Linked DNA regions of Homo sapiens: region 2 is linked to region 1. The links are contacts of gene promoters, found by promoter capture Hi-C in human tissues and cell types (Jung and others, 2019). All regions are on one chromosome and are shown on one strand. The core of a region is centred on a gene start or on the middle of the fragment in contact, and the rest is flanking DNA. Distances in the headings are between cores, read along the strand shown.

The links. The method cuts DNA at HindIII sites, captures the fragments that hold promoters and counts their contacts. A contact is called where the count stands out against the background at its distance.
Region 2: a fragment that was not itself captured here is called in contact with the fragment with the promoter of SNX33 in region 1 in 2 of the 25 tissues and cell types used here (IMR-90 fibroblasts and lymphoblastoid cells).

Annotation. Positions count from the first base shown.
Region 1 is chr15:75,644,917-75,649,824 of GRCh38, forward strand. It overlaps SNX33 (sorting nexin 33), which reads left to right and starts at 2,996. Exons shown (of 2, transcript NM_153271.2): 1 at 2,996-4,908. The coding sequence starts at 4,187. RefSeq lists a silencer at 2,615-3,154 and an enhancer at 2,780-3,471. The HindIII fragment of the contact is 33,754 bases long and covers 1-4,908 here.
Region 2 is chr15:75,825,772-75,830,679 of GRCh38, forward strand. No RefSeq gene overlaps it. Among named protein-coding and RNA genes, the nearest start is that of UBE2Q2, 15 kb to the right of the region's middle. The HindIII fragment of the contact is 5,487 bases long and covers 171-4,908 here.

The DNA of each region.
Region 1 (4,908 bases), core at 1,746-4,245:
GGCAACAGAGTGAGACCCTGTCTCAAAAAAAAAAAAAAAAAAAACAGAAAAGAAAAAAAGAATAATGTGAGACTTGACTAAAGGGACTGTTTCCATAGGAATGGGCAGGGTATAGGGAGATCACAAGGGTTAGTGCAGTTTCCTGAGACTGCTAACATGGCCTGTTTCCCCTAGGACTGAAGAAGGTCCCTGGAGGGGAGGGAATGGGAAGATACAGGTTCTGGAAATCTCAGTGAGGCTGAGGAGTGAGTTCCTCCCAAGAACCTGGAAATAAGGGTGGCTCCTGAGAGTTACAAAAAAACCCGTCTAGAACACATGTGGGAGTAAATCCAAAATGGCTGGTCTGTAAATGTGTGACTGAGTGTTTGGGAACCAACTAAAGTCTGTCAAGGGTGGTGGCTGAGGACGCCTCGGGGAGGTTGGGCTGGAGGGGGACCCTATTGGGTGAACAGAAATCCCAATTGTATTAAGTAAACTAATAAAGGTAAAGCGTTTACTGTAGTGTCCATCACTCAGCAAGCACTAAGGAAGTAGATGCTTTTTTTTGCTTTTTTTTTTTTTTTGTGAGACAGCGTCTCGATCTGTCCCCCAGGCTGGAGTATAATGACATATACAATGGCACCATCTTGGCTCACTGCAGCCTCTCACTCCTGGCCACCTCACCTGGCTGATGCTATCTTTTTTTTTTTTTTTTTGAGATTGGAGTCTTGCTCTATCACCAGGCTAGAGTGCAGTGGCACAATCTCGGCTCACTGCAACCTCTGCCTCCTGGGTTCAAGCAATTCTTCTACCTCAGCCTCCTGAGTAGCTGGGATTACAGGCATGCGCCATCACGCCCAGCTAATTTTTTGTATTTTTAGTAGAGATGGGGTTTCGCCATGTTGGCCAAGCTGGTCTCGAACTCCTGAGCTCAAGTAATCCACCTGCCTTGGCCTCCCAAAGTGCTGGGATTACAGGTGTGAGCCACTGCACCCAGCCCTGATGCTATTGTTAAACTCAGTTTGGAGAAAGGCTATGTGGACAGAAGATAGATCACAGGGAAGGGGGGGGTCCTAAAAGCACGTGGGGAAAACGTATATTCTGTCTTAGAGATGCTAGGACGAACTGTCTTTAGAATGAAGGCTGCCCCATGACAGGAAGCAAGGTTTTAAGGTTACTTGACTGAGAGACTCCTCATACCCTTTCCCCTCTTGGGGGTTCCAGACTCACTGAGCTAACTTTCTGGTAACTGGGCTTCCCAAGGGGTAGCCCAAACTGCCTTGATCTATTGATGCAGAAATTCAGTTCTGCTTGACAGTTTTATTTCTCTGTGCAAATTGATACCTAGCCTTCTGGGGTTTGTACATAGGCCTTTATTCTGGTCAAATGCCAGACCTGCGAAGGGAGTCGGATCCACTCACTGAACCAGTGAAACTGGGTTTTGGAGCCAGAGGTCTGGGAACCATGTCCCTCAAAACAGCCAAAGGTATCCATCTTTAGCAGAACTACCTTGTACCAGTTAATCTGCAATAAGTGACTAGGGAGAGAATGAAGGGAAGATCTAGCTAGACAGGGTAGACAAGACTCCAGGGTATAGCCAGGAAAGGGAGTCCTCCTGAAGCCTTTGCCTCATCTTAGGCACTTCCTCCTTCAGGAAGCTTTCCTTGATCCTTGCTCTACCCAGGCTGGGGTAGGTACCCTCATGTGCACTTTTCATGGCACTAACTAGTCACACTGGGCAGGGAGCATTTGTCTACTTGTCACAACATATCTGAGCTTTTGGAAAATAAGGATAATGTCTTATTTGTCTTTGTAGCTCAGGGGCCTGGTGCAGAGTAGGTACTCAGTTAATGTTTCTTGAGTGCATGACTTGGCTGAATGAATGACTGAGACAGAATGGATTGATTAAAGACAAGAGAGGGTGGACTGTAAGCCCCCCAGGATAGAAACCCCGACTGCCTTGTGGTGTACTACTCCCCAGTGCCCAGCACAGTGCCTAGCAGAATCAATGCCCAAAGTGTTCCCGATATGCTGACCGAGGGTCAGATCCCACTTGCCTCTTCTCGAAGATTCTCTACCTGACCACTTCTCTCCTTGCTGCCGCTGGCTAGCACAGAACATCCAGTCCCCGCTGCTGTACTAAGCAACACGGAACCGGGTGGCACCTAGACTTGTTCCCTGTCGCTGCAGATGTAGAGTAGTGTCTTTCCCTCCTTCCAAGCTAGTCGCCCAGGGCAGGGTCGCCCTGTCTGGCTAGGGTGCTGCACCCGCAGCTCTCGGTATCTTAGGTCAGACGCCTGGAACGCGCAGGCCGTTTCTGTTCCTCCGGAAAACAATCTCTGAGCTGCGCCACGACCCGTCCCTGCGGAGCAGGAGTGGGGAATGGGAAGGTGGGAAGGCGAGTCCGCGACTCTGCTCCCCAACCCCAGCTGGCGCGGCGGCTTTCCACGCACCCCCCTCCCCCCACCCCGATCTCCCGATCCTGGCTCTGGCGCGGTGCTCCTTGCAGCCCCACGCTTTGCAAACTTTCGGAGTTTTACTCCATTTGCGTCACGGAAAAGGCAGGAGGATGACGGAGTCCAGGAAGCGAGGCAGCGGCAGCTGGCAAGCTCCCCCGCCGGGCGCTCCAACCACGGGGGCGTGAGGTGTCTCCCGGCGAGGGCGGACAGGCGGAGGGAGAGGAGGGGAGGTGGCGGTCCCAGGGACCAGCCCCGGAGGCTCTCGGGCCCCCTCGTTCCCGGGTCGTTTCCTCCCTCTCGCCTCCCGGACTGAGCGCCAGCGAGCGAGGGCGCTGGCCAGCTGGGAAGCCGCGCGGAGGAGTAGGCGGGGGCTCGGCTGCAGCGCCCCGGGCCCGCGGGAGGGCGGAGCTGGCCGTCCCTGCCCCGCCGGGACGCACGGAAGTGCAGCGGAGTTTGCCCGATTCTCCAGCCTGCTTCCCCCTCCCTCCTCCCTCTCCCCACCCCTCACCTCCCCTTTGGCGATCCCCTCCTTCCTCAGGACGCCACCTCCCGGAATCGCCTTTTTGTTTTGGAGCTGCCTTCTCGCTGGCGGAGCGGAGGGTCTGCGAGCGCCGGGGAAGGCAGGCTGGGGGCGCAGCCCGCCCCCCACTGGCCGGGCCCCGCAGGGCGGAGAGGAGGACGGACGGACAGACGGCTGGCCGCGCCATCTGCTCGCCGGAGCTCACTCTCCAAACTCCAAACTGTTGAGTGTGTGCGTGCACGCGAGGGTGGTGATCGGGGGTCGTAAGTCCCGGGTGAGGAACCGGTTTCTGCTGGGGTTACCTTTGGACGGGGTTCCTGGGATTCAGAGCAGGGTCAGCGTCAGGCTCAGAAACTGCTGAGGAATTAGGCAAACAAAAGAGACCACTCAGCGAGTGGCTAGAAGTCGCCCGACAGCCTCGTCGCGCCCCCTCCTTCCTCCGGGGTTGGGGCTGGCCACTTCTGGGGCGGGGAGAGGGCGCCCGAGCCGGCGGGGGCTCCGGCTGCGCAGCCGGGGTCGAAGAGTTGGCGGCCTGTTGTGTAAGCCTCAGTCCTTGTTTTCCCGGCCTGGCTCGTTGTGAAGCCGGACACATCCACCCTTGGACTCGATTCAGGCGGCTGCTGCTTTTCTCCTTGCCCCTCTTGGATTTTCCGGATTTTTGAAAACCCAGTGGCCCAGGAGCAAGAGGAGGAAGGAGGAAGGGGCAGATCTGCAGAGGAATGTGAGAGCCTCCCAAAGCGAGAGCCGCCAAAAGAATCTGGGAGCCAGAGGGACAGCCGAGCCCTGCCCGGGTTTCTGGAATGGTGGTTTCAGAGTGAGTCTCTTCTATTTTAGAACGTTGTTCCAGTGGAAAGTGTCGAATTTTTCCCCTCGCAGGGCAGATTTCTCCAGGTCACTTGACTTTTCTTCTGGGAGTAGGAGTTAGGAGAGATTCCCCTCTAACCCCCCAGAGGCTGCTAAGGGAGGAGGAGACTGTGGACATGAGCCCTCCCTGCTCACAAGCATATGCCCGGAGACCTGATAGGGCAGTTTCTGGGCCATGGACATTGCTTTGAAGAGGGGGAGACTGGACAGCATCTGTGGGTGCTGAGACCCCACCTTAGGACCTGAGAGATTGAACTGTGTAAGCGCCATTCAGCTGCGAGTGCATTCTTGGACTGCCTTGTGAGCATCCCCGGTCTGGGCAGGACCCTCTCCTTCCCATCTTTCTATACCACCCAGCCCAGCCATGGCACTGAAAGGCCGAGCCCTCTATGACTTTCACAGTGAGAACAAGGAGGAAATCAGCATCCAGCAGGATGAGGACCTGGTCATCTTTAGCGAGACCTCACTGGATGGCTGGCTGCAGGGCCAGAACAGCCGTGGGGAGACAGGGCTCTTTCCTGCCTCTTATGTGGAGATCGTCCGTTCTGGCATCAGCACCAACCATGCTGACTACTCCAGCAGCCCTGCAGGCTCTCCCGGAGCCCAGGTGAGCTTGTACAACAGCCCCAGTGTGGCCAGCCCAGCTAGGAGTGGTGGGGGCAGTGGCTTCCTCTCAAACCAGGGTAGCTTTGAGGAGGATGATGATGATGACTGGGATGACTGGGACGACGGATGCACAGTGGTGGAGGAGCCACGGGCTGGTGGGCTGGGCACCAACGGGCACCCTCCCCTCAACCTCTCCTACCCTGGTGCCTACCCCAGCCAGCACATGGCCTTCCGGCCCAAGCCACCACTGGAGCGGCAGGACAGCCTGGCATCTGCCAAGCGAGGCAGTGTGGTGGGCCGTAACCTCAACCGTTTCTCATGCTTTGTGCGTTCTGGAGTGGAGGCCTTCATCCTGGGTGATGTGCCCATGATGGCCAAGATCGCTGAGACATACTCCATTGAAATGGGCCCTCGTGGCCCCCAGTGGAAGGCCAATCCCCACCCATTTGCCTGCTCTGTGGAGGACCCCACAAAACAGAC
Region 2 (4,908 bases), core at 1,664-4,163, 180 kb after region 1:
TAAGCTTGTATTTCTTCCTTGCATGAAAGTATTAACATCATTAAAATACTCAAGATGTCAAACAAGAAAACAGATCTGGCTGTCTAATTTACAGCCTGAAAAAGTTGGGGCTACACTGGTCTTCTGTCTTGCAGAAGCACAGCTTCACTCTATCCTTCAAATCTTCTTGACAGAACTTTTCCCTTAAGTAACCATCATATGTCAGCATATAATTACAATTGTTTATGATCAGCATTCCATATTATTACAGAGTAAAGAAAACAATCTCAAACTGAACACATTAGCAAGCCTTTATAGAATTAACACTTTTTACTGTGTCACCTAGCACACTGAAAGCTTAGCTGACCTTCATTCATTCATTCATTTGTTGTTATGGGAGGTGGGACAGGGAACCTGACTTCTCAAGAAGGAAAGCAGTGTATTTACTTGCATTCTGGTGCAAGCTTTTTTTTTTCTTTTTTTGTGAGACAGGGTCTCACTGTGTCGTCCACTGCAGCCTCGACCTCCTGGGCTCAGGTGGTCCTCTCACCTCAGCCTCCCTAGTAGCTTGGACCACAGGTACACGCCACCATGCCTGGCTGATTTTTGTATTTTGTAGCAACAGGGTCTTGCCATGTTGCCCAGGCTGGTCTTCAAACTCCTGGGCTCAAGCGATTTGCCCACCTCAGCCTCCCAGCCTCCAAAGTGTTGGGATTACAGGCATGAGCTACTGCGCCCAGCCCTGGTGCAAGCTTCTCAATCTGAGTAAGTATCCCAGAATGTTTCCCTGTCATTTAAGCTGCTTTACCTGGACACATTCCTACACAAAGCCTAAACTCCAAACTACATTTTCTGACGCTAATCACACACTTTGATGTTACGGCAATGTTGAATTGTTATGAAAATTTCTAAACATCTCCTTTCAATTGCCGTACATATCTTATCATAGACTGTCAACAGTGTGCAGAGACCTGCAAGACCTGCACAGGTGTGCAAATTGCACTCTGAGCAACATTGCTCTCCGTCATTCTCTTATTCCAACTGATTTCAGTAATCACTCCCTCCCCTCGAGTCTTCAAGCCTAGGGATGATAAGAGCTTGGTTGCTACCAGCTCTCACTACACTATTCCCCCAACAGCTTCGCCTTTATAAATTGTTATTTTGTTCATAAATCTCCTCCTTGAATTATCCTAATCTGCCTTCTGAATTTCTCTTGGGAAATGTTTTCTGATATAGCCTCCTAACATAGTACCCTGTCCGGCACAGACAAGACGAACAATCCGTGTTTACTGAATAAATGACCTGACATTATTTTGGAGAAATAAGATAACATTTTTCAGGAGGTGAAAATAAGGAGAGGACCCAAGGCATGATATGAACCCGTGCTTCTTCCTTACATGGTCATTATCCCTTCCAGATTTGGAGGCCTAGGCCAGAGCAACCAATAGCTCACATAACACCTTTGTGCAAATTAGAAAAAGGCCTGGCCTGTGGAAGGACACAGTCCCCAAAACACATGGCTTGAAAAAATACAGTGTGGGCTGGCTCTCAGCTCCCCAGACCAGGTACTCTCTGCTTGAATAATGCACACAATCTTACGCAGCTAGTCTGCCCTAGGCTGAGCAAACTGGCAAGTCATTCCACCTTAGAAAAGTGACCAATTAAGTATAATTCTCTGAAGAAGCTCATTACAGCTCAGATTTTGTGGGAATGTGATATTTTTGTCTGCAGGGTGATCTTTTTGACACTTTTCCTCCTTACCTTCCTGAATGTGAGAAGAGAGTCCTTGCTGGCATCATTCGAATAGGTAGTATTGTTATCCAATGGGGCCACAGGATTTCTGGGGGCAAATGCTTTTTGCAGTTCTTCTAAATATAATTGTGCTGTCTTGAAGAAGACCTTTAAGACCCCGAACTGCATGGTCTGTGACTAAGAGTAGCCCAGGGGAGCGTGCTGGGGGTGGCAGGTATTAGGACCTAGCTCTTTCTGGCTGGAGCTGGCACCACTTGCATAGGAGGTACACTGATCCCTGGGGTGAGTTGGGGAGTGGGGATGGGAGAGTTCAAGGGAGCAGGGTGAGGAAACTAAACGACTTGTCAGTGCCTTGTGATTCAGACCTTCCTGTTGTAGAGAAGTGATTTTGTTTGACATGGATTCCCAGAATGCCTGACACACCCACATGCAAGCGAGCCCCAACCCATCCCAGGGCCCATGGTGAGTGAGTGAACTGAGGATTCATGACAGCTTCTGCCCTCAGCACCATTCCCTGCTCCTATCTGAACAGGCTTTTCCCCAATAGAAGCATCACAAGAGCATATGAGGATGGGAAACATTCCAGAGACTTGCATTAAATTGACCCTATAATTCTCAAGCCTGAGAGGGGAAGCTATCTGTCTTTTCTGGAAGCTTGACACACCTTAACTTCTCTCATTTCTTGTTTTTATTTATTTGTTTATTTATATTTTAGACGGAGTTTCACTCTTGTCACCTAGGTTGGTGTGCAATGGTGCAATCTTGGTTCACTGCAACCTCCGTCTCCCTGGTTCAAGCAATTCCCCTGCTTCAGCCTCCCAGGTAACTGGGATTACAGGCATACGCCACCATGCCCAGCTAATTTTGTATTTTTAGTAGAGATGGGGTTTCACCATGTTGGTCAGGCTGGTCTTAAACTCCTGACCTCAAGTGATCCACCTACCTCAGCCTCCCAAAGTGCTGGGATTATAGGCGTGAACCACCGCGCCTGGCCAACTTCTTTCATTTCTTAATCTCCCAAACACATCGGTCAACTGTAAGTTTGATAGTAATGACAGGGATATCTACTTCGTAATCAAACCAAAAGTGGTGAGATGGGGAGGATGTGGGAAAGGCGAATCAGAGAGCCTGGGGAAAGGTATTGCTCTCCCTTCCAGAACTGGAGTCAACATACAAACACCTTTTCATGCGGTCACTGGGTCATCACTAAAAGTAACACTCATTGCATTTTGGAAACTGAAGAAATCTCAGAGACCATTATTCCTTTGTTTTAAAGACTAGGACCCTGAAGCGTAATGAAATGTATTACGGCTGAAGATTACCCAGGAAATGAAACCAGGGTTAGAACCCAGGTCTGTGGCTGCTACTCCAATGTGACTTCTACCATGCTATGCTGCCTCTCAAAGTAATTATCTTTTCTCACTCATTCGTTCATTCACCAAATATTTGTTGGGCACTGTTACGTGCCTGGCACTGTGAGGTATGCTAGCTAGATAGTAGAAGTGAACAAGACCAACATTGTCCTCACGGGGCTTAAATGTAATGAGAAGACACATTAAACAAATTATGCAAATAAACAATTACAAAGATGATGAATGCCAAGAAGAATTAGACGGCACTATTAGAGCTTATAAAAACATGCCTTACCTAGCCCAAGTGGCAATGATGGTGGTGAGATCCAGGAAGGCTTCTCTGAGGAAATGACATTTAAGCTGAGACTTGAAGGATGAGTAGAAGATAGTGAGGTGAAGGGTCTGGGAGATGGGAAGTGAAATTGAGGTAGAGGGAAGGAGATGTATTATGGCAAAAACTGTCATTACTTTTGCACCAGCCTAATACAAAGGCAGGAAAGAGATAAAGCTTTCAAATAACTGAAAATAAACCTGTGGCCTAGTGTATAAATGGTCTGGGGGATACAATGGGTTGGGAAGCAGAGTCAGACCATTCAGAGCCTGGCAAGCTGTGGTCAGGATTCTGGACTTTATCCTGAGAGTGGAGGGAAACCACTGGAGGGTTTTTAAATATGGAAGTGTTATGACCAGATTTTTCTTTTTCTTTTTTTTTTTTGAGATTGAGTTTTGCTCTTGTTGCCCAGGCTGCAGTGCAATGGCGCGATTTCAGCTTACTGCAAACTCCTCCTCCCAGGTACAAGCAATTCTCCTGCCTCAGCCTCCCAAGTAGCTGGGATTACATCTATATGGCATCACACCTGGCTAATTTCGTATTTTTAATAGGGATGGGATTTCGCCATGTTGACCAGGCTGGTCTTGAACTCCTGACCTCAGGTGATCCACCTGCCTCGGCCTCCCAAAGCACTAGGATTACAGGCATGAGCCACCGCACCTGGCTGACCAGATTTTAAAAAGATCACTGAGAAGATTTCACTAGTGGGAGCAAAAGTGAATGCAGGCAGTGACTTAGGGGGCTCCTCCAACATCTCAGGTAAGAGAGGATGGTGGCTTGGACCAGAGCAGGGCTAGTGGAGATGGGGAGAAATGAAGACATCCACAAGCATTTAGAAGGAACTTGGTACTCAGTGAATGTGAGAAATGAGCAAGAGAGGAGGGACCAAGAGTAACCATCAGTGTTGGCATAAGACGGGGGAAATGGGGGTGCATTCCTGGAGCTAGGGAATACTGCAGGAGTCAAAGCCTCAAAAAGAGACCAAGATTGGACATGTTAAGATTGAGGGACCTGGGAGACAAAGAGGAGAAGATCAGAGAAGGCAGTTGGATGTGTAGGACTTACAGTGCAGAAAAGAGATCTGCTTTAGAAATAGAAATGTAGGAGTCAGGTTGGCCAGGCGTGGTGGCTCACACCTGTAATCCCAGCACTTTGGGAGGCCAAGGTGGGTGGATCACCTGAGGTCAGGAGTTTGAGACCAGACTGGCCAACATGGCAAAACCCCGTCTCTACTAAAAATATAAAAATTAGCCAGGTGTGTTGGTGGGTGCCTGTAGTCCCAGCTACTCGGGGGGCTGAGGCAGGATAATTGCTTGAACTGGGGAGGTGGAGGTTTCAGTGAGCCAAGATCGTGCCACTTCAGTCCAGCCTGGGTGAAAGAGTGAAACTCCATCTCAAAAAAAAAACCAAAAAAAAAATTTAGGGGTCAGGTCACCGAGATGGTGACCAAAGCCATGGGAATGGAGAAATCCATTTAGGGAGAGAGGCTAGGCC